7 separate regions of the Homo sapiens genome follow, and regions 1, 2, 3, 4, 5 and 7 are each linked to region 6. Evidence: promoter capture Hi-C in 16 types of primary human blood cells and fetal thymus (Javierre and others, 2016). All regions are on one chromosome and are shown on one strand. The core of a region is centred on a gene start or on the middle of the fragment in contact, and the rest is flanking DNA. Distances in the headings are between cores, read along the strand shown. Region 1 overlaps ADD3-AS1 (ADD3 antisense RNA 1). Region 2 overlaps XPNPEP1 (X-prolyl aminopeptidase 1). Region 3 overlaps RBM20 (RNA binding motif protein 20). Region 4 overlaps RBM20 (RNA binding motif protein 20). Region 5 overlaps RBM20 (RNA binding motif protein 20). Region 6 holds the start of SMNDC1 (survival motor neuron domain containing 1). Region 7 has its middle 8.8 kb from the start of XPNPEP1.

Evidence for each region. Contacts are between HindIII fragments. The CHiCAGO score rates a contact against its expected background, and 5 or more counts as called.
Region 1: a fragment that was not itself captured here is called in contact with the fragment with the promoter of SMNDC1 in region 6 in 1 of 17 cell types (neutrophils); the score reaches 6.7 in neutrophils.
Region 2: a contact is called between a fragment that was not itself captured here and the fragment with the promoter of SMNDC1 in region 6, in 10 of 17 cell types (neutrophils, monocytes, naive CD8 T cells and 7 more). The highest score is 16.6, in neutrophils.
Region 3: a contact is called between a fragment that was not itself captured here and the fragment with the promoter of SMNDC1 in region 6, in 15 of 17 cell types (megakaryocytes, fetal thymus, M2 macrophages and 12 more). The highest score is 23.1, in megakaryocytes.
Region 4: a fragment that was not itself captured here is called in contact with the fragment with the promoter of SMNDC1 in region 6 in 4 of 17 cell types (M2 macrophages, M0 macrophages, M1 macrophages and 1 more); the score reaches 14.6 in M2 macrophages.
Region 5: a fragment that was not itself captured here is called in contact with the fragment with the promoter of SMNDC1 in region 6 in 10 of 17 cell types (M2 macrophages, megakaryocytes, M0 macrophages and 7 more); the score reaches 12.9 in M2 macrophages.
Region 7: a fragment that was not itself captured here is called in contact with the fragment with the promoter of SMNDC1 in region 6 in 3 of 17 cell types (neutrophils, monocytes and naive CD4 T cells); the score reaches 10.8 in neutrophils.

Annotation. Positions count from the first base shown.
Region 1 is chr10:109,959,876-109,963,055 of GRCh38, forward strand. The region is part of intron 2 of ADD3-AS1 (ADD3 antisense RNA 1); the gene reads right to left. Among named protein-coding and RNA genes, the nearest start is that of XPNPEP1, 38 kb to the left of the region's middle. The HindIII fragment of the contact is 8,042 bases long and covers 1-3,180 here.
Region 2 is chr10:109,911,454-109,914,528 of GRCh38, forward strand. The region is part of intron 2 of XPNPEP1 (X-prolyl aminopeptidase 1); the gene reads right to left. Among named protein-coding and RNA genes, the nearest start is that of XPNPEP1, 11 kb to the right of the region's middle. RefSeq lists enhancers at 1,387-1,436, 1,783-2,438. The HindIII fragment of the contact is 2,633 bases long and covers 218-2,850 here.
Region 3 is chr10:110,675,799-110,678,904 of GRCh38, forward strand. All of the region lies in intron 1 of RBM20 (RNA binding motif protein 20), which reads left to right. Among named protein-coding and RNA genes, the nearest start is that of RBM20, 33 kb to the left of the region's middle. The HindIII fragment of the contact is 7,368 bases long and covers 1-3,106 here.
Region 4 is chr10:110,694,720-110,697,947 of GRCh38, forward strand. The region is part of intron 1 of RBM20 (RNA binding motif protein 20); the gene reads left to right. Among named protein-coding and RNA genes, the nearest start is that of RBM20, 52 kb to the left of the region's middle. The HindIII fragment of the contact is 3,322 bases long and covers 1-3,019 here.
Region 5 is chr10:110,658,241-110,661,362 of GRCh38, forward strand. The region is part of intron 1 of RBM20 (RNA binding motif protein 20); the gene reads left to right. Among named protein-coding and RNA genes, the nearest start is that of RBM20, 15 kb to the left of the region's middle. The HindIII fragment of the contact is 1,324 bases long and covers 940-2,263 here.
Region 6 is chr10:110,303,269-110,306,258 of GRCh38, forward strand. SMNDC1 (survival motor neuron domain containing 1) reads right to left here and starts at 1,652. Exons shown (of 6, transcript NM_005871.4): 1 at 1,480-1,652; 2 at 200-319. The coding sequence starts at 319. RefSeq lists a silencer at 1,164-1,483. The HindIII fragment of the contact is 6,895 bases long and covers 1-2,990 here.
Region 7 is chr10:109,930,851-109,933,715 of GRCh38, forward strand. No RefSeq gene overlaps it. Among named protein-coding and RNA genes, the nearest start is that of XPNPEP1, 8.8 kb to the left of the region's middle. The HindIII fragment of the contact is 4,489 bases long and covers 1-2,865 here.

The DNA.
Region 1 (3,180 bases), core at 189-2,688, 340 kb before region 6:
CAGGCGCTTTTCTGTGGAAACCAGGGTGTACTTGAAAAACTCACCCAGAGACCAAGGCAGAGAGGAACGATCTGTTACCATCCTCCCAATTTGGCCTGCTTTTATTTCTCTAAAATCATGGTTTGCAATATGTGGGTGTTACTGTGCTGTTTTTTTCCCCTAGTAGAATGACAACCAGGAAAACCTCCACACTTCAACTGAGCAAGTATTTGTCGACTTGAGTGGGATATAGTGAATAATAACAATAGCTAATTGAGCACTTATTATGTTCCAAGGAATGTTCTGAGCATTTTACATGAACCGACTCTTGAATCCTCACAACAACCCTGAGGTAGGTACATTATTATTCCCTTTTTTTTTTTTTTTTTTTTTGAGACCGAGTCTTGCTCTTTCGCCCAGGCTGGAGCGCAGTGGCGCAATCTCGGCTCACTGCACGCTCCACCTCCCAGGTTCACACCACTCTCCTGCCTCAGCCTCCCAAGTAGCTGGGACTACAGGCACCCGCCACCACGCCCGGCTAATTTTTTTGTATTTTTAGTAGAGATGGGATTTCACTATGTTAGCCGGGATGGTCTCGATCTCCTGACCTTGAGATCTGCCTGCCTCAGCCTCCCAAGTGCTGGAATTACAGGTGTCAGCCACCGAGCCCAGCCCTTATTATTCCCATTTTTTAAATGAAAAGATGAAATAGAGAGATGTCAAGTTAGGGAAAGATTAAATTTCCTAAACAAACACCATAGTTCATCAATTCTAAAATAATTTTTGTCACATTTTAACATCACTGAAATTAGAATGTGTCCTACAACTGATGGCACGTTAGCATTGTGTCATAATTTAATTAACCACTTTTTTTCTTTTTTGGTGATGCTTAAAATAATATTTCATCTTACAGCAACAGTATCTTAAATTTGATGAGAAATGGCAGGGAGAGAGAGTCAGGGTAAAACCCGGGCAGTTTGACTGTGGAGTCTGTGTTCTCAGGCCATGCAATGAGAGATTCCCAGCTGCCCAGGGAGAAGGGGAGGGGAAAAAAATAGATTTTGATTTCAACTAGGAGTTCAGAAAATGCTGTAAGTAGGATTTCTGAGACCTCACCATTCACCTAGTTCTTAAATTGGTCATCAAAAACAAAACAAAACAAAAACTTTACTTGGTTTTTAAATGGATAAAAAGCTAAGGCAGCCTAAGCAGTTTTCCAGTCTTTTAAAAAAGAAATCTTCAATGCTTTTTGATAAACAAAGACCTCATACTGGTCCCCTCCCTATGACACCCCCAGAAATTCTGATACTATATGCTGACCCTACTATCACCCCACTCTGTGAGAATATTTGGCCTAAAAAATATTCAAAAACTGTCTTGTTCTGTGTACAATTCTGCGTGGGATTTGATCCACCTTTCTCTTTTCTTATCTTCTCAAGCATGATAATATTTAGATAGCAATAAACTTAATTTTTTTTTAAAGAGTGAGGGTGAGTGAAAGGGTAAAGAGGAATTGTGTGTGTGTGTGTGTGTGTGTGTGAGTGTGTGTGTCTGTGTGTGTTTTGGAATTGTTTTGTTTTGTTTTATATTTGGGTTGGTAAGGAAGAAGTCTGTATTTTTTTTTAAAGGAAATCTGTAATTTTAACCAATTTATTATTCCCAGTTTTTCTAGCAACAACACATTGATTTTGTTGCCCAGGAAACTGGTGGGAGTTTCTGGAGAATTAATTACCTCATTCCAAACCAGGAGGTCACCAACCACGCTCTTTTCAACTCTGTTTTTATATGAAACAAAGGCCATTCCTTGCAGCTCACCTGAGTCTCTCTAGAGTCTGAAACCTGAGTCTCTACTCATTCCTGGGATTTCGCACTTCCTGCTGCAAACCATATGTCAGGTTATGACGGGAAAACCCTATAGTTACATTTGGGGAGGGTGGGGGAGGAAGGATGAGGTCACAAATCCCTGCAGGAGGCAATCACAGCTCCAACTCAAAGCTGCTAGAAAAACATGTTCCAATAAATTAAATAGATTGTTTTCATAGCCCTTTAACAACATTTTGCTTTTTACAGTTTGAAGTGTCTTTCCCTCTGCTCTGTGCCATAAGTGGGCTCCTTTTAGACTTTTGCAAAAGCTAGCGGCTAGCCTGCCCTGAGCGGTAATCTGCCTGGATTTTGTTCCCTGCACCTGGAAAGTTCTTTTAATTGGAAGGGTTTTTTATTCCCTTCCTTTCTTTGGTGGAGACACCAAACACAGAGAGCCTGGGGGGAAATGGGGTCTCTCAAGTCACTAAGAGACTGAAGTGTCTTAGGGGGCTTTGGTGGTACTGAGGACTCACCTAGCACTCCAGTAAAAGACGCCTAGGGATTTGGGAGGCATGCCTCAGGGGAGAATTTGCCCTCCTAAGGACAAGAGGATGAAAAAGAAGGCTTGCTGACATGCCCCACTATTGATAGGAAACCCTGAGTACCAGGAGTAATCTGGTTACCCATCTGAACCACAAGAAATCTATCACTGGGGATGAGAACATAGTCCTTGTCCCTTAAGTGGAGGACAAGAAGAATGTTTCTTTAAAGATGACTGGCAGAAAACTGACTCATGTCAGGGTGGTGGAGGAGAGAAGGAACAGGATCTGAAATCTGGCAGACTTAAATTTGAATCCTGGCTCTGCCACTTGCTAGCTGCATGACCAGCAGTGAATGAACCGCTCTCTGAGCCTCTGTTTCCACTTGTACAAAATAAGGATAACAATATAAAGTATGAGTACTATGAGGATTAAATTATATCAAGTATTTACACTGCCTAACACATAAAGGCATGGAATGGCTGCTCTATCCATGCAATGCATCGTGCAGATCTCTCTGACTTCACATCTCCATGTGAGAGGATTAGGGCAGCACCTTGACAGCAGGTATGCCCCATTTTCTTTTCTCCAACAAAGCTCAGACTTATCCTATTCCTCAGCACACCTCAACTGCTTCTCCCTGGGGCCTGGTGGGCTTCAGAAGTTAAATCTGTGCTTATTCCACTTCTCCTAACAAGAGACCAGGAATGACGAAGGCTCCAGCCTTGTAGCCATTGTGTTTCTTGGGCCAATTTAGGTTAATGTCATGGACAACTCATTATCTTATGCACTTTCTTTTTTTTTTCTTTTCTTTTTTTTTTTTTGAGATGGATTTTCACTCTTGTTGCCCAGGCTGCAG
Region 2 (3,075 bases), core at 284-2,783, 390 kb before region 6:
AGAGAAAAAGGGATCGGAAGTATCTGGTCTGATCCAAGTTTATATGTCAACACCTCCACTGGGGGTTCAAAATAAAGCCCATTGTGATCTCCCAAGCTTGCCAGCATCTAAAAATTTTACTCTGATATCTTTCAGGAGCTTCAGAATAGATTTATTGTGTTTTCAAACCATATTTCTGAGCAAGTTATCATTCTTAAAAACAGTCAAGCAAAAATGAAGCTTTCTTTAGGAGCAGGACTTCAACACTGGCTGCACATTAGGACTATCCGGGAAACATCTGACTTAACTGGTCTGGAGTACAGCCTTGGCTTCAGGAGTTTTAAAATGCAAAAATATAAGAGTCTAATATACTTTCTTTCAAGATCATTTATTTCTTTATAGACTCTGCCTTCCATTCAGGTACATTCTGACGTAAGGATTTTGGTGGCACTGACTGGGTGTTTAGTGCTGATTGTAGTATCAATATTATCAGTCACTAACTTCATCAATAACGTTAACACAACCAATCATGAGCACAAAATCTTCAACTGCAAACTAAAAACCAACAAAAACAAACTGGATCTGTTCAAAAACATCCTCTGCTTCCTGGTCATCACAACCTGCCTCCTCATTCCCACATTCTGATCTTCATCACTACCACCATCACATCATCACGTTTCCCCTGGTGACTGGCATATCAGACCCCCACAGAATCATCAGCTTTATCAGTCTCACTGACACTCCCCTCCACAATGCTACCTACCCCCATCAACACTCAACACTTTCCCTCTTCCTACTTCCTCATCCTTCAGGCCGATCACATTCATGTTCTGGGTGCAATGCAGCTACTTCTTTATCATCAATATTAGACATGATGAAAGAAGTCCCAATACCATAACCAATAGTTAGGATGTGGTAAGGGGCAGTGGCAGCAACAGTGAAGGTGAAGAAGATAGCAACAGGCAATGGCTGAGGCAGTGAGGCAGCTACCACTGAAGTGAATACAGTGGGCCCTGGTGGTTGAGGCAGCTGTACCCACAAGGAAAACAGGTGATGGAAAGTGATTGAATGAGTGAGCAGCTGGAGCTAAGGAGAGAACAAAGTTGGTGCAATTATATAAGTCCTAGCCATTGAGGTGGCACTGGTTGAAAAGGCAGCCAAGATGGAGGAAGTGAAAGTTGTAGCTAATGACCCTCATAATTTGTATAAGGAGTAAATGAGTTACTATACATATGGCACTTAGAAACAGTACCTGGCACATAACAAATGTCATGTAAATGTTTAATGTTATTAGAGTTAGACACACAACTAACCATAAATGCAATGTGATAAATTGTGTAAACAGGTGTGTATACCACTTCTCCGGAAGGCAGGGATGATGTCATCTCTGTATCCATGTATCTACAATTAACATATACATATGCTCACTCAAAGATGGCTAAATCAAATTCACAACATTGGATCTATGATCTTTTCAGTCTCAATGAACAGTAATGAATCTTCAGTGACAGATAGGCTCTTGCAAGGTGCTGTATTATGACATCTGCTCATTCCACATCCTATGACTTTTCAGAAATGTTAGAAACAGCCAAGAGCTAAGCAAAGTATGCAGCAAAGTAGGAAGCCAAGAGCAACAGGCCTAGTCCACGATGAAACATTAGCCCATACACTGCCAGGTATTTTCAAACTATGCCTTACAGAGAATGACTCACTTAAAAGTCTTGCATATACAGGTCTGCTTTTAGAAATAAGTTCCCACACCTTCAGCCTTTATCACAAACAAGATTTTTCACTGATTGTACATGAAAAGCACACCATACTTACCTCACTGGTGGCCAGGCAAATTAAACATGATAATGTGTGTGAAAGCACCATGCACAGCATCTATTACACTGCAGGAGCTCAAGAAATATTTGAATCTGGATCTGAAGCACCAGCTGGAATTCCCAAGTCTCGTTATAAGAATGGAAGGGGCCAGTTTACTCCAATTTCAGCATCTTAACACGGGCACAGATGCTCTTCCAGCATCAATAGCTTTAGAGGTAGTGGTTTGTTTCTCTGTTGCACAGCTGAGGGAACGCTAAGGGCTTTACATACATTAGTGGCTAATTCTCACAACAATCCTCCAAGGGAGGTTTCACTATTCTCATTTTACACATAAAGGAACAGGAGTTAAAAGGAGTTAAGTACTTGCCCAAAGTCAGCTGGTTCATCAGGAACCGGGACTCAAGGTCTATGCAATTCCCAAGTCCATGCTCTATTACACCATATTAGCTGGGGGACATAATAGAGCCTTAAAGTGTTCTAAGACCAACAGAAGCAAAACAAGTGAGCTCCAGTTTCCAGCTGGGATCTACAACCTCAGGCAACTGAAGCTACCTAACCTCTATTTCCTCATACATTACAAAAAGAAAAAGAAGTTATCTTCCAACTCTAAGTTTAATGATTCCATCACTTTTTTCCTTTCTTTACTTTCTCTTTTTCCTCCTTCCTCTGCTACCTCCTAATATGGTCCAAAATGTGTTGGATACATCTATATTTTTTAAAGAAAAAGGATCTAAAATTGCATGCAATTATAGCACTGATCTTCCAAACAGAGATTAGACGGGCATGGTTTCTTATGTACTTCAAGAGATCAATTTTTCAGTCAGCTAAAAAAAAAAAAAACACATGGTTCTCCTTAGTAGTCGTTAGAGCAGTACTGGCTTACTGGGATAGAAATACAGTAATACACCACTTTTCAGAATTCAGGTTTCTGGCAACCCATCAGACAATTAACCAGTTCTGGGGAGAAGGGACAGCCAAGAAATATTTCCCAAAAAGACTTTCCTAAATGCACACTCAATTTATAAAGGACAATAATATATTACAAGCTTTTCTCATTTTGCAATCTTATGATCAAAATTGAAAGCTAATTTCTAAGATAATGAAGGACTATATTAGAGAAATAGAGAACATTTTCCATAATAACCTATCTCCTTCTCCACCACCACCACTCTGACAAAAATGGAAAACGAAAAAAACAAACAACAAAAAAAAAGTTGTAATTCTCTAACTTACTACCTTAAAAAAAAATGGTAATGGCCAGGCGCAGTG
Region 3 (3,106 bases), core at 599-3,098, 370 kb after region 6:
TCATTTATGAAAAAGGAAGAATATTTACCTCAGGTTGTTGGGAGCATTAAATGTGATAATATATATAATCATTTAGCAGAATGCCTAGCAGAGAGTAAGCAGGCAGGAAATGATAGCTGCTATGGCTTATATTTCACAGATATATGTAGGGTTATAATGCAGTCTCTGAGAATGAGAAGCAGTGAGGGTGGACATGATTTAGGTAGAGTTTACTTGGTAGTCACCTGCAATGATAATTAGCTAACGGATAGTGGGCGCTGGATTTCTTCTTCTGGAGCATCCCAGGAATGGACTATGAATTCCAGATGTGGTTCTGCTTTGCTCCAAGAACTGACTGCATTTCCTTTTGTCTTCTAAAACCCAGAGGGTGAAACCAGGACATTTCCATTGTACTGAAATTTGGCATAAAATCTGGTGCCAATTGTACATCCCAGGGGCTGAAATCAGGATATGCTGAAATTCCCAGTGTCCTCGCTCTGCTGGTTCCCACTTCCTGACGGCGCTGACAGATAAGTGCCCTGCATCTCACAGAGAGAGAAAAATAGATATTTGGAAGTGGTATCTTTTATTGCCTATAAAGTTAAACAATGCACGAAACAATTATAACCAAGGCAGAGACGTTTAGACAACATGCATAAAAGGAAAAAAACAGTGGAAGAGAAACTTTGCTCTAAGATGAAATGCTAATTCTAACTATCGCTCTCAGAATTTATGGGGCAACATCACTTAGTACTTCTTACACTTGCGTTCCTGCACATTTCAAACTGTTCATATGGTAGTTTTTCTTCTGTATGACATTCTGCAATTGTAGAGTTTTTCTTTATATTACTTCATTCACAAATTTCAAAATTCACAAAGTGTCTATCAATTAGGAAGAACAACTTCTTGTACTTTTCTGATTTGCAGTCTCCTTGGTTGTGACAAACCTATTTGTTCTTGTCCCTGTATCGTTGATATAATCCAACTTGGCTTCTTTGGAAGCAACAAATGCTATTTTTTTTGCTTCAAATCCAATATTGGTTTTTAAATTTGTGGATGCAAGAGGCTATAAAGAGGTTTAAAATATATGTAGCTTGAAAATATTAATGTTTTTAAAAAATCTCAGAGTCACTTTAGAATTTTAAAATTTTCAAGTAAGGCTGCAATCAGATAGATACTTGTAGACTGTCTTAGGCTGTTTTCTGTTGCTTTTAACAGAATTCCTAAAACAGGATAATTTTTAAAGAAACCAAAATTTATTTATTATAGTTATGGGGGCTGAGAAGTCCAAGGTCAAGGGGCTGCATCTGGTAAGGGCCTTCTTGCTGGTGGGAACTCTGTAGAATCCCGAGGTGGCATAGGGTATCACATGGTGGAGGAGGCTAAGCGTGCTAGCTCAGGCCTCTCTCCTCTTATAAAGCCACCAGTCCCACTCTCATAATAACCCATTAATCCATTAACTATGAATATGTTAACCTATAAATGGATTAATCCAGAGCCCTTATGACCCAGTCACCTCTTAAAGGCCCTATCTTTTTTTCTTTTTTCTTTTTTTTTTTGAGACACAGTCTAGCTCTGTCACCAAGGCTGGAGTACAGTGGCTCCATCTCTGCTCACTGCAAGCTCTGCCTCCTGGGTTCACGCCATTCTCCTGCCGCAGCCTCCCGAGTAGCTGGGACTACGGGTGCCCACCACCACGCCCAGCTAATTTTTTGTATTTTTAGTAGAGATGGGGTTTCACCGTGTTAGCCAGGATGGTCCCTATCTCCTGACCTCGTGATCTGCCTGCCTTGGCCTCCCAAAGTGCTGGGATTACAGGCGTGAGCCACCGCGCCCAGCCAAAGGCCTCATCTTAAAGGGGACAAATATTCAAACCATAGCACAGAACTATTTGGTGCTAAATGGTATTTTGGGAAAACTGGAGTGTTACATATTGTTTAATTTTTCCAAATTTCTGATAAAACGGAAGATCTTAGATAGTTGGTGTGTTCGATGGGCATGTATCTCATGTTACTTGTCTTCATGTTGTAGACATCTCTCTAAAAATAATGATACCAACCAGGCTGGTAAAATGGCTTTCTGAATTGTTTTACTCGAGTCAGAGGGGATTTGCACCCTCTAGATGTTGCTCCTTCACAGCTTAACCCTCGGGGAACTTCATTTTTAATTCATTCAACTGAAAGAAGTATTTACTGAACACCTATTATGTGCTAGGTGCTGTCTTAGGTGCTGAGTGATGAATGGAATAGGTAATTCTTATGGATGGAGCTTCCTGTCTAGTGAGGAAAACTAACATAAACCAAAAAAATAGGTAACTATAAAACATAAACTGGGATAAATAATATTAAGGAAAAGAAAGGATTTCTTTCAACCTTATCTTTCTTATAGACAATGTGGGGAAATAGAGCTATGGGAGTACTCAAAAGTTTATCCACACAAAACAAATCCCTATAAAAACCTAACCAAAGAGCAAAGATTAAATGTAATTATGCAAAAAAATGTTTAGGTGTCAAGGCATTTAAATACATTACTTTGCCATTAAGTGGCTATGAGGGTGTCACTAAATGGAATTCTGTTTCAAGACGTACTTGAGCTCATAGCATGTTGAGACCATGATCTTCTCATAATTTGGTTCACTTTGATTAAAGCAGCATCATGCCCACTGCAGCATCATCAGAGAAAGGATCTCCTGAGTTAAGGACACCCATGGAAAGCATCCTATTGTGTGATTTCTCCCTTATTGTTCATTTCTGGGAAGGTACAGTTTGGTTTTGGAAAGCACTCTTGAGTGTGCAAGGCCGGGGGAGTCTGGGGTCTACTCTTCATCCTGCCACCCACTCCCTTGATCAATGAACTTGGCTTCTCTGAGACTTGGAGATTTGGTTTCCACATCTGGAATATAAAGGTGTTGAGCCTGATGACCTTGAAAGATTTTTCTAGGTCTAAATTTTATTACAGAAGCAGTGGGCAATAGGAGAATGTTTGGTGGTAGATTCACTTCATATCTAATGAAGATGTGACATTTTCATGATATGCTGCAGTAGAGGGAGCACTGGTCCAGGAGTCTGAAAGTTCAAGCTCAGCAATACAGAGACTTTTGGAATGACTTGGTTTATGTTCATTCAGG
Region 4 (3,228 bases), core at 109-2,608, 390 kb after region 6:
CAGCAAACTGGATTATACCATAAGAAGGCAACTAGTTCAGTTAGAACATACCTTAGTATTACATTTTAATCAGACACCACAAGGAGCTGACTGACGTTTAACTCCAGAGTTGTAACAATTTTGAATTGTTGAATTCAAAATTCAACAATTTTGAATTTTGCCCAAATTTAGGAAAGAATTGGAGTAAGTCAGGCTAGTGGCCTCCTATAGCAAGTCAGGAAAGATATACTAGCAGAGTATAGTGTCATGTCTGTGGTTCAAAGGTTGTGTCCTTACCTCTTGAGTTACATTTTGATTGACAGGGCAAAACTGAATTTTTCAGATATTGTCACTTCAAAGGATTCTTAAAACTCTGCCACAGGATTGATTTTTGTTACGATATCGTCAGGCAGTGAGTGAGATGACATCCTGAGGTGCTGAAATCCTTAAGTTTTCTGGCCCCTGCTGAGTGGATGACCCAAAGACCCCTGCAGTTTAACTGAGGTGTTTATTCATCTGCAGACTGGAAGCCAAGGATTGGAAATTTAACATGAAATAAATAATTAAACCTCACTTCCACAGGTGCAGAGGGCATAAATAATCTAACTGCATGCTGCCCAGGCATTCCATAGCATGGGCCATTTAGATTTAATGCCCAGGCACTCACTTGTAACTGAATATGTCGGAAGGTGGCTCCTGCCTGGGATGGGAACGGGTGCTATTTCAGAGCAGTGTGTTTGTCTGTCTGCTGGAAAGCTGCCTCCACCCTCAGACTCTTCTGGAGACCCTTTGCTGTCTTGGACTCCAGGGGAAATGTGTCCGCCCCTTGCCCAGCCCAGAGTACGAAATCTACAACCAACTCCTCTTCTGGTTAAACAAAGGAGGTGATGTATTGAAGAGAGGCCCAAGAGAAATGATTCATTTCATCAGAAATGTTTGGAGAAACAGATGAGTTCGCTGATGGGAGTGGACTTCACACACTTTGTTCTCAGAGTCATGAGTTTGAACCTGAGATCATTTGAGCATTGGGAAGTGGCTGAAAGTGGGTGTCATTTTCTGCTTTAACAGCAAATCTTGTGACAGGCACTGAGAGGTAGCAATCCATTTTCTGGTGACCAAGGGTAAGGATGCAACTACTAGTTCTAATTATGTCTGCATCACTTACATGGCTTTGCACACAGTACAAATGTAATAAAAATTTGTTAAACGAGTCACTGAAAGAACACTGATGCATTGTGATATTTTGTTCTTCCTAATAGTGGTCTTGCCTGAGCCAGTGTCACTCACAGTGGAGGTCCCTGGACCAGCAGCATCAGCATCTACTTAGGAATGCAAATTCTCAGGCCCTGTTCCAGAGCCAATCAGTCTCCTTAGTGGGCCCAGGAATCTGTTTTTAACAAAGCCTCTGGTGATTCTGATGCCTGCGGAAGCGTGAGCCACACTGGGCTAGAGTTTCTTTGGCCAGGGAAGTGATTTAAGAATTGTACGCATCCTTATTTCCTCTCCTCAGTAGGAAGTCACCATAGCTGGTTGCAAGAGAATCGCATTTTAAATCTTTAGATGTACATGTCCCCAACCCTACTCCCCCAGGACTTCTTACCCAGGACTCAGCTAGTCCCCTGGCTTTTTTTTCTCTCCAGATCTCATGTTTCCAGATTCTGTGCTCAGTCACTTCTTGGGAAATACAGATGGGGTTGGGAGGGAGGCATCCTCCCCTTTGCTGATTGCTGGAGGGGATTGAGCTGTCACGTCAGACCTCTGCTGAATGCCCACTGTGTGCAATGCCTGCACCACAGTGAGCAGTGCACAGTCCTCATCCCCAGGACCTCAGAAACTCCAAGGGTGGCAGACCTTGGAAGTGATGAAGGTGGGGATGAAGTGGCACTCACTGGGCTGGATCTAGGAGCACCCAGATGGGCCAAGCGCAACCGTGGGCTGGGGTGGAGTAGGAGGGCTTCCTGGAGGAAGTACTGCCTGGGCCATGGCTGATAGGGCAAGTGAGTGGCAGCAGGGTAAAGAGAGGGAGAGCCAAAGGGAATTTGAGGCTGAAGGAGCAGCACAGCTTAAAGCACACTCTGGAGAGGGTTTCGTCCAACTCTGGGGGACCTTTTTTGCTTTTTATGTTACTAGATATAGTAAAGTCTGCAACTCTTACTTTTACAGCTTGATGAATTCTCAAATGTGTGCTCATCCCTGTTACCACCACACAGACCAAAAGACTGGAGATTTCCAGCCTCCCAAAAGGGAGCCCATCCACAGCTCCCTGCCACCAAAGGCAACCCCCATTCTTACCTCTGTCATCATAGATTAGTTTTGTTGGGGACTTTTTTAGACTATCCACTTCTTAAGGAAAAAAACTTATCCTGTAGAGCCAAAGATGGCTCAGGCTTGATATGACTTTGAGTTATGTGTTTTGTTTGGTCTATGCAGAATTTTTTTTTTAAGCTCATTGCTCAGATTTAAAAGTTGGGGGATTTCACACAACAAAAGCCCAACAACACTGGGCTCGTGAACCTCAGCAGCAGTGCTGGGCTGTAGTCAGGTAGGAACCGTCCCCCTGAAGATGGGTGTCCATGCGTCAGTATCCCTGGCTGTTCCCCACTGCTCACTCCTAGCCAGCTGCACTTTTGTTACTTGCCTGGCCCACTTGGGCTTGGCCCATGAGTTTTCAATCCCTGCCTTTAAATATGGTTTTGTTTCTTAGTTTGGGGCCTCCTGCATGACTGAGGGTGCTTAGTAATTTCCTTGGTTCACTCTTCAGTGTGTATTGAGCACTAACTATGAGCCAGGCCCATGCCAAGAGCTGGGATACAGAGGTGTGCCCAGGCAGAGGGATTGAGGTATTGTTTGTTGTTTGCCATGCAGGCAGCCAGAAATGTGGCACAGTCCTACCTGCATGAGTTCACTTCTCACCACCTCCTTGGATGCCACCCATGCTGGTTGTTTCCTGGCCCCTGAGCCCACCTTGTTTCATGATCATCACACATCCACTGTCACTATCCCTTCATTTCCTCCCTGTCTGGTCCTCATCCTTCCCTCAAGCTTTTGCTCAAGTCTCACCTCTTCCAAGAAGTCTTCACTGACCAGCCCTTTCTCTTGTGATGCCTCCCTCCCCTGATTTTATCAGCGTATTCCCCACACCACAATCCCATCAATTCTCAATTATTTATTCCCTCACATTGAAGAAACAGGGGCCTTGTTTCTTTTTTTTTTTCTTTTTTTTTTTTGAGACTGAGTCTCACTCTGTCG
Region 5 (3,122 bases), core at 352-2,851, 350 kb after region 6:
TAGAGCAGTTCGGTGGAGCAGGGGAAACTTACACACCTGTGAGGGTAATTTGACGTCTCCTAGCCATGATGCAACAGTGCTGGGGGGTGAGTGAATGGCGCTGTGTTTTACAGTCTGTAGCATTCACAGGGCACTTTGTTTCCTTCTAGGTTATCCCAGTTAATCCTCCAACAACCCTGTGAAGTAGGTAGGGACTAAGTAACTAGGAGTAGCTCAGGGTCACCTAGCCAATGATCGGAGATCCCGGGCTCAGAGCCAGGCCTTCTGACTCCTTCCAAGTTGCGTGCCCTCCTCTTTTTCGTTTGAATTTCCTCCTCCTTGTCCCTGCCCACTGCCGTCCCCTTAGTTCAGGCCTCCCAGCTCTACCCCCGGCCTCCTGCTGGATTGGGCTCCACTCCTTCTTTCTCTGCAGCAGCACAGTCTTGACCTTGTCCTCTGCTTGCTGGAAGCCCTGCTGTGGCTTCTCCTGGCCTTTAGGTTAAGGTTCAGACTGCATGGAAGGCCTTTCCAGATCTGCCCCACTCAGCCCTCCAGCTCCAGAACTTCCTGTCCTCTCTTGGCTGCCCTCTTTCCCTCTCCTCAACTAGAACATTCTGAATTCTGCTTAGACCTCACCTCTTCCAGGGAGCTTTCCCCAACCCTAAGCAGGAAGGAGGGCTGAGTGACCCTCTTCCTGTAATTGTCTGTGGCTCCCATAGTAGCATTTGTCCGTGCTCTCCTCTTGCTTGTCTCCCATAAAGACCATGCAAAGTCCTTGCAGTCAAGGCCACTGCCACTCACCTTTGCTATCCTCATCACCTAGCAGAGCCCCTGGCACATAGTGTGTTGAATATCTGGGAATGAGGAACTTAACTGCAACTGAACTTTCAATCTAACTGACTTGGTGATGAGAAATACTAGTCAGGATGCTCTCATGGGTGAGACCTGATGTGACGCCAAAGCTTGGTTTTCTCCAGCTTATGTTTTATTTGGACTGCCTGTCTGAAAGGGCTAGACAGACATTTATGTTCAGAGAGGCCATATAAGAAGAATATAAATGCGGAAAGTCATAAACTTCAGCTCTGCTCTGGGCTCCACTCTCAAGCCACTGTGTGACCAGAGGTAGCACTTAGCTTCTTAGAGTCCACATGGGTTAAAGGGGGACCAGGGTATGGGGCTTGTTCAAACAGTCAATGAGATGACAGGTGAACATGCCTTGGTAGGAAAGCAGTACTGAATACATGTGTCCTCATGTAAGCCAGCTTTTTGTCTCATGCTGTCATCTCCAGCCAGAGGCCAGATTGTGTGCAGGCAATTTCCAGGCTGAATTTCTGAGAGATTTGATCCAAATAGGATAAATGGTGGAAATGACCACTAGGAACACTCCTTAAAACCTGCTTGCATCAATGCTTTCAATGATACATTTCTGCATCTCAAAAAAAAGTTTCTAAGCCCTAAGCTAGCATCTGCCTATTTCAAGCAATTTCTGTTCTTTTTTTTCTTTTCTTTTCTTTCCTTTCCTCTTCCTCTTCTTCTTCCTCTTCCTCTTCTTCCTCTTCCTCCTCCTCTTCCTCCCGTTCCCCTTCCCCTTCCTCTTCTTCCTCTTCCTCTTCCACTTCTTCTTCTTCTTCCTCTTCTTTTTTTTTTAATTTTTTTTTTGACAGGGCCTTACTCTCACCCAGACTAGAGTGCATACTGATCCTCCCACCTCAACCTCCCAAGGAGCTGGGGCTACAGGTGTGCACCACCATGCCTGGCTAATTTTTTTTGTATTTTTTTGTAGAGTCCGGTTTTCACCATGTTGCTCAGTCTGGTCTCAAACTTCTGGGCTCAAGCGATCATTCTGCCTCAGCCTCCTAATGTGCTGGGATTATAGGTGTGAGTGACCATGCTTGGCCTCAAGCAATTTCTAAAATAACACAAATCAAGACAACAGCAACACCAAGATACTGCTTTATTATTGCCTTGACATTTGCAATAATGACAGTTTAACTATAGCAGTAATAATGACAGTCGACTTGTGGCAGCTTAAAAAAAAAAGAAGCTGCCTGGAAAATAAGTGATTGCTCACGATTCCTCAGGGAGACTTACTCCAACCACCCTATTTAAATTGCATCTTGAACCCATCTCTTCCCATCCAGGCTGTCTTATTTTGCTTTATTTCTTCCACTTGTTGTCTTCTAGCATAAGGATCCCCAACCCCCAGGCCATGGACGGGTACCAGGCTGTGGCCTGTTAGGAACGAGGCCACACAGCAGGAGGTGAGCGGTGGGCGAGCAAGCGAAGCTTCATCTGTATTTACAGCTGCTCTCCATCACTCGCATTACTGCCTGAGCTCCGCCTCCTGTCAGATCAGTGGTGGCATTAGATTCTCATAGGAGGGCAAATCCTATTGTGAACTGCACATAGGAGGGATCTAGGTTGCATGCTCCTTATGAGAACCTAATGCCTGATGATCTGTCACTGTCTCCCATCACCCCGAGATAGGACCATCTAGTTGCAGGAAAATAAGCTCAGGGCTCCCACTGATTCTATATTATGGTGAGTTGTATAATTATTTCCTTATATATTACAATAAATAATAAAGTACACAATAAATGTGATATGCTGGAATCATCCCTAAACCATCCCTTGCCACCATAGTCCATGGAAAAATTGTCTTCCAAAAAACTGGTCCCTGGTGCCGAAAAGGTTGGGGACCGCTGTTCTGACAAATTATATAATTTACTCATTTATTATGTTCTTACTGTCTATTATGGCTCCTTTCACCCTGCCCCCACCACATAAGCTCTCCAATGGCAGGAGAGTTGTACTCAGTGATTTACCCCCCAGGGCCTAGGAGCAATTCCTGACACCTGGAAGATGCTCACTAAATATTTGTTGAATGACTAAGTGAACTATAGGTAAAAATACTGACTTTAGTGATTGTTATGTGGTGGCATTTGTTCCCTCTCTGAGCCCACCTAGGATATGAACTATATGGGCTTCAGGGTCTGAGTTTTGTGATTCAGGAAACTGAAAGTGGAAGGTGTTAGAAGATTGTAGCCTCTGCTCCTGTGGGGTTCTTGGAAGTAAGACTCTCCCTGGGCACCCGTGACTTGGTGCTCTTCTCATGGCCCAGCTCCAGCAGTTGCCAGTGTAGC
Region 6 (2,990 bases), core at 402-2,901:
AAAGAACAATATTTCACTCTGATGTACAGAAACCTGAGAACTGGGGAAGCAACCCTACTTCTACAAGCAATGGTACCTACAGAATTTACATATATACATAGGGTGGGGTGTAACCCCTCAAAAGGCGCTTTGGGTACTTAGGGATTCAAGCAATAATTTGAAAAACAGAGAAAAAGTACAATTGTCTACCCATACTTACTTGTAAATCTTTCTTCAATTTTAGCAAATCTTCATTTTCTCCATTTCCAGATAATGCAGCTTCAACTTGCTGGAGCTGAGCTTTGTAGCTTGCCAGCTGCTTTGCTAAATCCTCTGACATCTAGGGAAAATAAAAAGGGTTAGACCATGAAAACTAAACCAAAAATCAAGGCATAAAAAACTAACTCCCCTGTCTGCCTGAATTACCAGTTTTTGCCTCTAACTCCTTCTAACACTGCAGCTTAATTTACCACCATTACCTTTACTCTCAGTTTAGACTTCAGCTAAACCACAAACTTAAAGGCAACAGATTCTGAGGATTATAAACTTGAGATACATTCCATACTTTAAAAAAGCATACAGATACAAAGAAATTTCTAATTTTCTTTTAACTCCTATCCACAGGGTAGGTGCTGAATTCGGCTCAATAATCAGTGTTATCTTTTTAAAAAGCACTACTCTGTTGGAAAAGTCGAAACTTTCAAAAACAATCCAAATACTTATTTTTAAGCACTACAGTATGCTTCCAAAGCCAAACAAGTGCGTTTTTAAATTAACTACACAAACTACGATCTTTACTTGAACTATTCAATTAAGAGTGTATTTAAAAGTGCCTCTCCAAAACAAAAATCTTTCGCCCAGTCGCTTAAATATTTATCGGTGCATTATCTTCAGCAAAAAGAACAGCACAGGTACTCTCCCATTTAGGCATTCTAACGAATGTGCCTTTCGCCAAATCCAGCTCAGTCATTTTCCTGAAAATAAGATACCAATTAACCTTTTTTGATGGTTTATAAGCAAATGTACCACGTTTCCGAGGACCCTTCTCCTTCGTAAAATTCCCGTCCAACCAAAGGCTGGGAGCCTGCAAAGGCCCCCTAAGAGTTACAGCGACCCAGGCTGCTCTCCTCCCCGCCACGCAGCACCTCAAAGCCCGCCACAACTCGATCATTCGGACGTGGAAATCCACACGCCAGCTCCAAGACCACCGCCGGAGCCCCGCCGCGCTCCAACAGGCAGGCTCCACAGGGAGCCGCGCGGCGCCCAGCCCCACCCGACCCGGTCCCCTGCGGGCCGTGTTTGCCGCCGCCGCACGGAGGCCAGCGCCGGCCGGGCCGCCGAGGCTCAGCTCTGGCTGAGAGACGGCCGTGGCTCCGGGATCCAGGGCCAGCGCCTGGGCGTCTCCGGCGAGGCGGGCTCCTCAGCCTTGGGCCTCCGCTTCACCTCGGGAGGGACCCGGGCCCGGCCAGGCCTTACTCTCTCCCTCAGGGGGGTTGTTACCTTGTGTGGGGCTGGGGGCGGGGCGGCGGGAAGGGGTCGGGGCAAATGAGCCCAGTGGTAGTGGCGGTGGCAGCAGCAGCAGTAGCAGTAGCAGGAAAATCACCGCGACGACAGCAAGGCGACCCGGTCTGAAAAGGAAGAACTCGGTCGGCGGCGAGGGGGAAGGGAGGAACGCCGGGCACTGGAAGGAGGAAAAGACAGAGACGGTGAAGTCTCGCGAGAAATACAAACTCTCGCGCGAGGTCGCTCGACTCACGTGACTCCGCGCGCCCTCTAGCCAGTCCCTGGCTGTCAGGGACACGAAGTAGGCGGGGCCTAGGAAGGAAATGGCGTAGCTGGGCTTCGCCAGGCGCGGAATGCAGGTTATCTTCCTGGAGTTCCGGCTTGGAATTTATTGGAAATGCAAATTCTCAAGCCCCACCCCAGACCTCCTGAATCCAGAGACTCTTGTTTTAATAAGCTCACCAGATGATACCAATGTCCGCTGACGTTTGAGAACCACTGCTTTTCCGGGGCGGTGGTGGTGGGTGGCGGGGGGTGTTGGTGGGGGCTCTCTTTACGTTGCCCTGGCTGGTCTCCAGCTCCTGGGCTCAAGCTATCCTCCTGCATCGGCATCCCAAAATGCTAGGATTACAGGCGTGAGCCACCGCGCCCAGCCTGAGAACCACTACTTTATATGATACAAGCCTTAGTAGTAACAGAAAGCTAATTAAATCGTGACAGAAATAACCTATTGGAGAGAAGATTGATTTCTTTAAAATCTGTTTTGTTAAAACCTACTTGGTTTTAATTTAGTTGGGTTAATCTCGCCTGATAGGGAACAACGTCCAAGTTAGTCTAGAATGGTAAAGAGTGGTAGGAATACTCACATTTGTGTTCAAAAAGAAATGCCCCTTGTGTATGTTTGTAATAATATATACGCTTTCTGGACGGATACACAAAACTGTTCAGAGGTTTGGAGTGGAAGCCAAATGTTTTATTGATTACCCTCTTTGCTGTTTACCCTTTTTCCTTTTCTTTTTTTTTTAAACCATATATATATAATTTATTTCAATTAAAAAAGCAATAAAGGCCTGAGACACAAAGTTTTATATAGATGACAGGAAGCAACCTTTCCTGGGAGGTTGGGAGTTTGTTGCTGGATCCATAAAAAGGCCCACTTCTCGCGGATCACCTGAGGTCAGGAGTTCGAGACCAGCTCGACCACGTGGAGAAACCCCGTCTCTACTAAAAATACAAAAAAAAAAAACCAACAACAACAACAACAACAAAAAGCCGAGCATGTTGGTGCATTCCTGTAATCCCAGCTGCTCGGGTGGCTGAGGCAGGAGAATCGCTTGAACCTGGAGGCGGCGGTTGCGGTGAGCCGAGATCGTGCCATTGCACTCCAGCCTGGGCAGCAAGAGTGAAACTCCGTCTCAAAAAAAAAAAAAAAGGCCCACTTCTCAGATGGGCTCTTTTGAACTGTGCCAACATCTTTAGTTCCTAGTTTTCTTTTCAAGGAGCCTTCC
Region 7 (2,865 bases), core at 191-2,690, 370 kb before region 6:
TGGGACACAAGAGTGAAACTCCGTCTCAAAATAAAATAAAATAAAATAAAAAATAAAAATAAAAATAAAAATCTGTGTCTTCGGTCTCTTTTGAAAAATCGGAAGGTTGGTTTGGCAATACTAGTCTTTCCTTCTATACAGTAACAAGGAACATGAACAGCGCAGGGACTGGCCCCATGAAATGGGACAGAGAGCCCTCCATTTAACCACTTACACTGTTCTACTTTACCTGCCAGACCACTATTGATGTCCAAATTTGTGACTCCTCCTCCTGGAGAATCTGACAAACATGGCCTGGATTTCAACTTCACTGAAATTGCCCTTGCAATTAAGCTAAGGTAACTACTTCTTGTCAGAATGGTTTCACCTTTCGCACCTAAACATAGAATCCCCCAAACTTAACACCAGCTAGCAAGTCCTCACTCTTCTTGTTTTGCAATTTGGATTTTGCAAGGCATGGGGCAACTCATTGGGGCTTGGCAGAGCCCCCAGAATTCTGGCAGCCCTGTGTGTACTGATGTCATGAGTGTCCCTTGCCATAATGCATCCTCATTACTAACTCAAATCTGCCAAACTCAAACAATTGGAGCTGAAAAACAGAGTAACAGGCTGCCTGAGCTGCAAAACAGTGCATAAAAATACTCAGAAAAACAATTAGTGCCTAGGACCATATCCAAGAATGAAAATCACTATTTATTATTGTTAATCATCCCTTTCCCTGATCACAATTTGCCTGCTAAAAGCAGCCCCTTCTCAAAATACAATGAGTAGTTCTAAAAGATATCTTAGTAATATAACCTAGTCATATATATTCTTTTCCTTAGTTTCTCATTAACCTATGTTTAATGTTTTATTCATCTACTCCTTCAATTTAATAACCTTTTTACCCTTACTTTTTCTTTTTTAAACAGCTTTATTGAGATGTTAGTTCTCATTACCATTCAATTTGCCTCTTTAAAGTGTCCAATTCATGTCTTTTATTATATTCAGGGTTTTACAACCATCTCCACAGGCACTTTTAGGGTTTTGTTTTTTTTGTTTGTTTGTTTGTTTTGCGACAGAGTCTCACTCTATTGCCCAGACTGGAGTGCAGTGGTGCAATCTCGGCTCACTGCAACCTCTGCCTCCCGGGTTCAAGCGATTCTCCTGCCTCAGCCTCCCAAGTAGCTGGGATTACAAGCGTCTGCCACCATGCCCGGCTAATTTTTGTATTTTTAGTAGAGACAGGTTTTCACCATGTTGGCCAGGCTAGTCTCAAACTCCTGACCTCAGGTGATCTTCCTGCCTTGGCCTCCCAAAGTGCTGGGATTACAGTCATGAGCCAGTGTGCCCAGCCAATTTTAGGACATTTTTATCACCCCAAAAAGAAATCTCATATCCTTTAGCATCACTCTTCTTTCCTCCCATCCTCCCCAGTCACAGGCAACCACTAATGGGCTTTCTATCTCTATAGAGTTGCCTCTTCCAAGCATTTCAGATAAATGAAATCCTACAACATATCATGCTCTGTGACTGGCCTCTTTCACTTATCATAGTGTTCTCAAGATTCATCTGTAATGTAGCATTCATCAATATTTCATTCCTTTTTTGCAGAATAATATTCCACTGTATGAATGTACCACATTTTACTTATCCATTCAAATGGACTTTTAGGTTGTTTCTACTTCTTGGCTGTTATGAATAATGCTGCGAGAACATTTGTGCATAAGTTTTTTTGTAGGTAGATTTCATTTTTCTTGGATAAATACCTAGGATGGAATTTCTGAGTCATAGGGTAACTCTATGCCTAACATTTTGAATAACTGATGAACTGGTTTTTTTTAAAGTGGCTGCACCTTTCCCACCAGCAATGCCTATTCTTATTACTCTTTATTAATATATTTGTTTTCTTTTTTCCATCAACTGTCCCCAGATTTCAAATGAAATTCCTAATTGCTTTTGCCCTTGGGGAAGTGGAGTGGCATTTAATTTTAGAGTGAACCCTTCTTTAGCCTCTCCTGTTAAGGACTCCGTTGGAGAAATCACACTTCAAGGGTCCCTTCACTCTTGTAAATCAGAATTGTTACCACAGTGCTACTTAAGCCAAAGTCTCTAAGTATCTAGCCTAGGTATTTTAGATACAAACAAAATAAAGTAATTCAATCATTTAAAGGCATAGACGTGGAAATTTGGAACTAGAAGGGGCCCTAAGGATTCCTTCATCAATGCCTTCATTTTATACATAAAGATGCTCTAACCAAACCGAGAGTCATGTGAGCAAGGCCACACAGCTGCTTATTAGAGAATAAGACTGAAACCCAGGTCTTCTGATTCCCCTCTATTCCTCTGATCAGTTCACCCTATAGTCTCTCAGCCAGCTGTGCTTAGCAAACACTGGGGCAATTATAATTCCAAGAGCAAGGGCTGCATTCATACATAGAACAGAGTGGAGAATTAGGTGATTCCGGGTACCATGGGCTGATTCTAGCCCATAGATGTATTTAGCTTACCCTACAAGGTATTTTAAGATTTTTTAGAAAATAGTTGCCAACTCATAAAAATGAAGAAATTTCGGCCAGGCGCGGTGGCTCGAGCTTGTAACCCCAGCACTTTGGGAGGCCGAGGGGGGTGGATCACGAGGTCAGGAGATCGAGACCATCCTGGCTAACACGGTGAAACCCCGTCTCTACTAAAAATACAAAAAATTAACCGGGCGTGGTGGCGGGCGCCTGTAGTCCCAGCTACTCGGGAGGCTGAGGTGGGAGAATGGCGTGAACCCGGGAAGTGGAGATTGCAGTGAGCAGAGATCAAGCCACTGCACTCCAGCCTGGGCGACAGAGCGAGACTCCATTTCAAAAAAAAAAAAAAATGAAGAGATTTCACCCC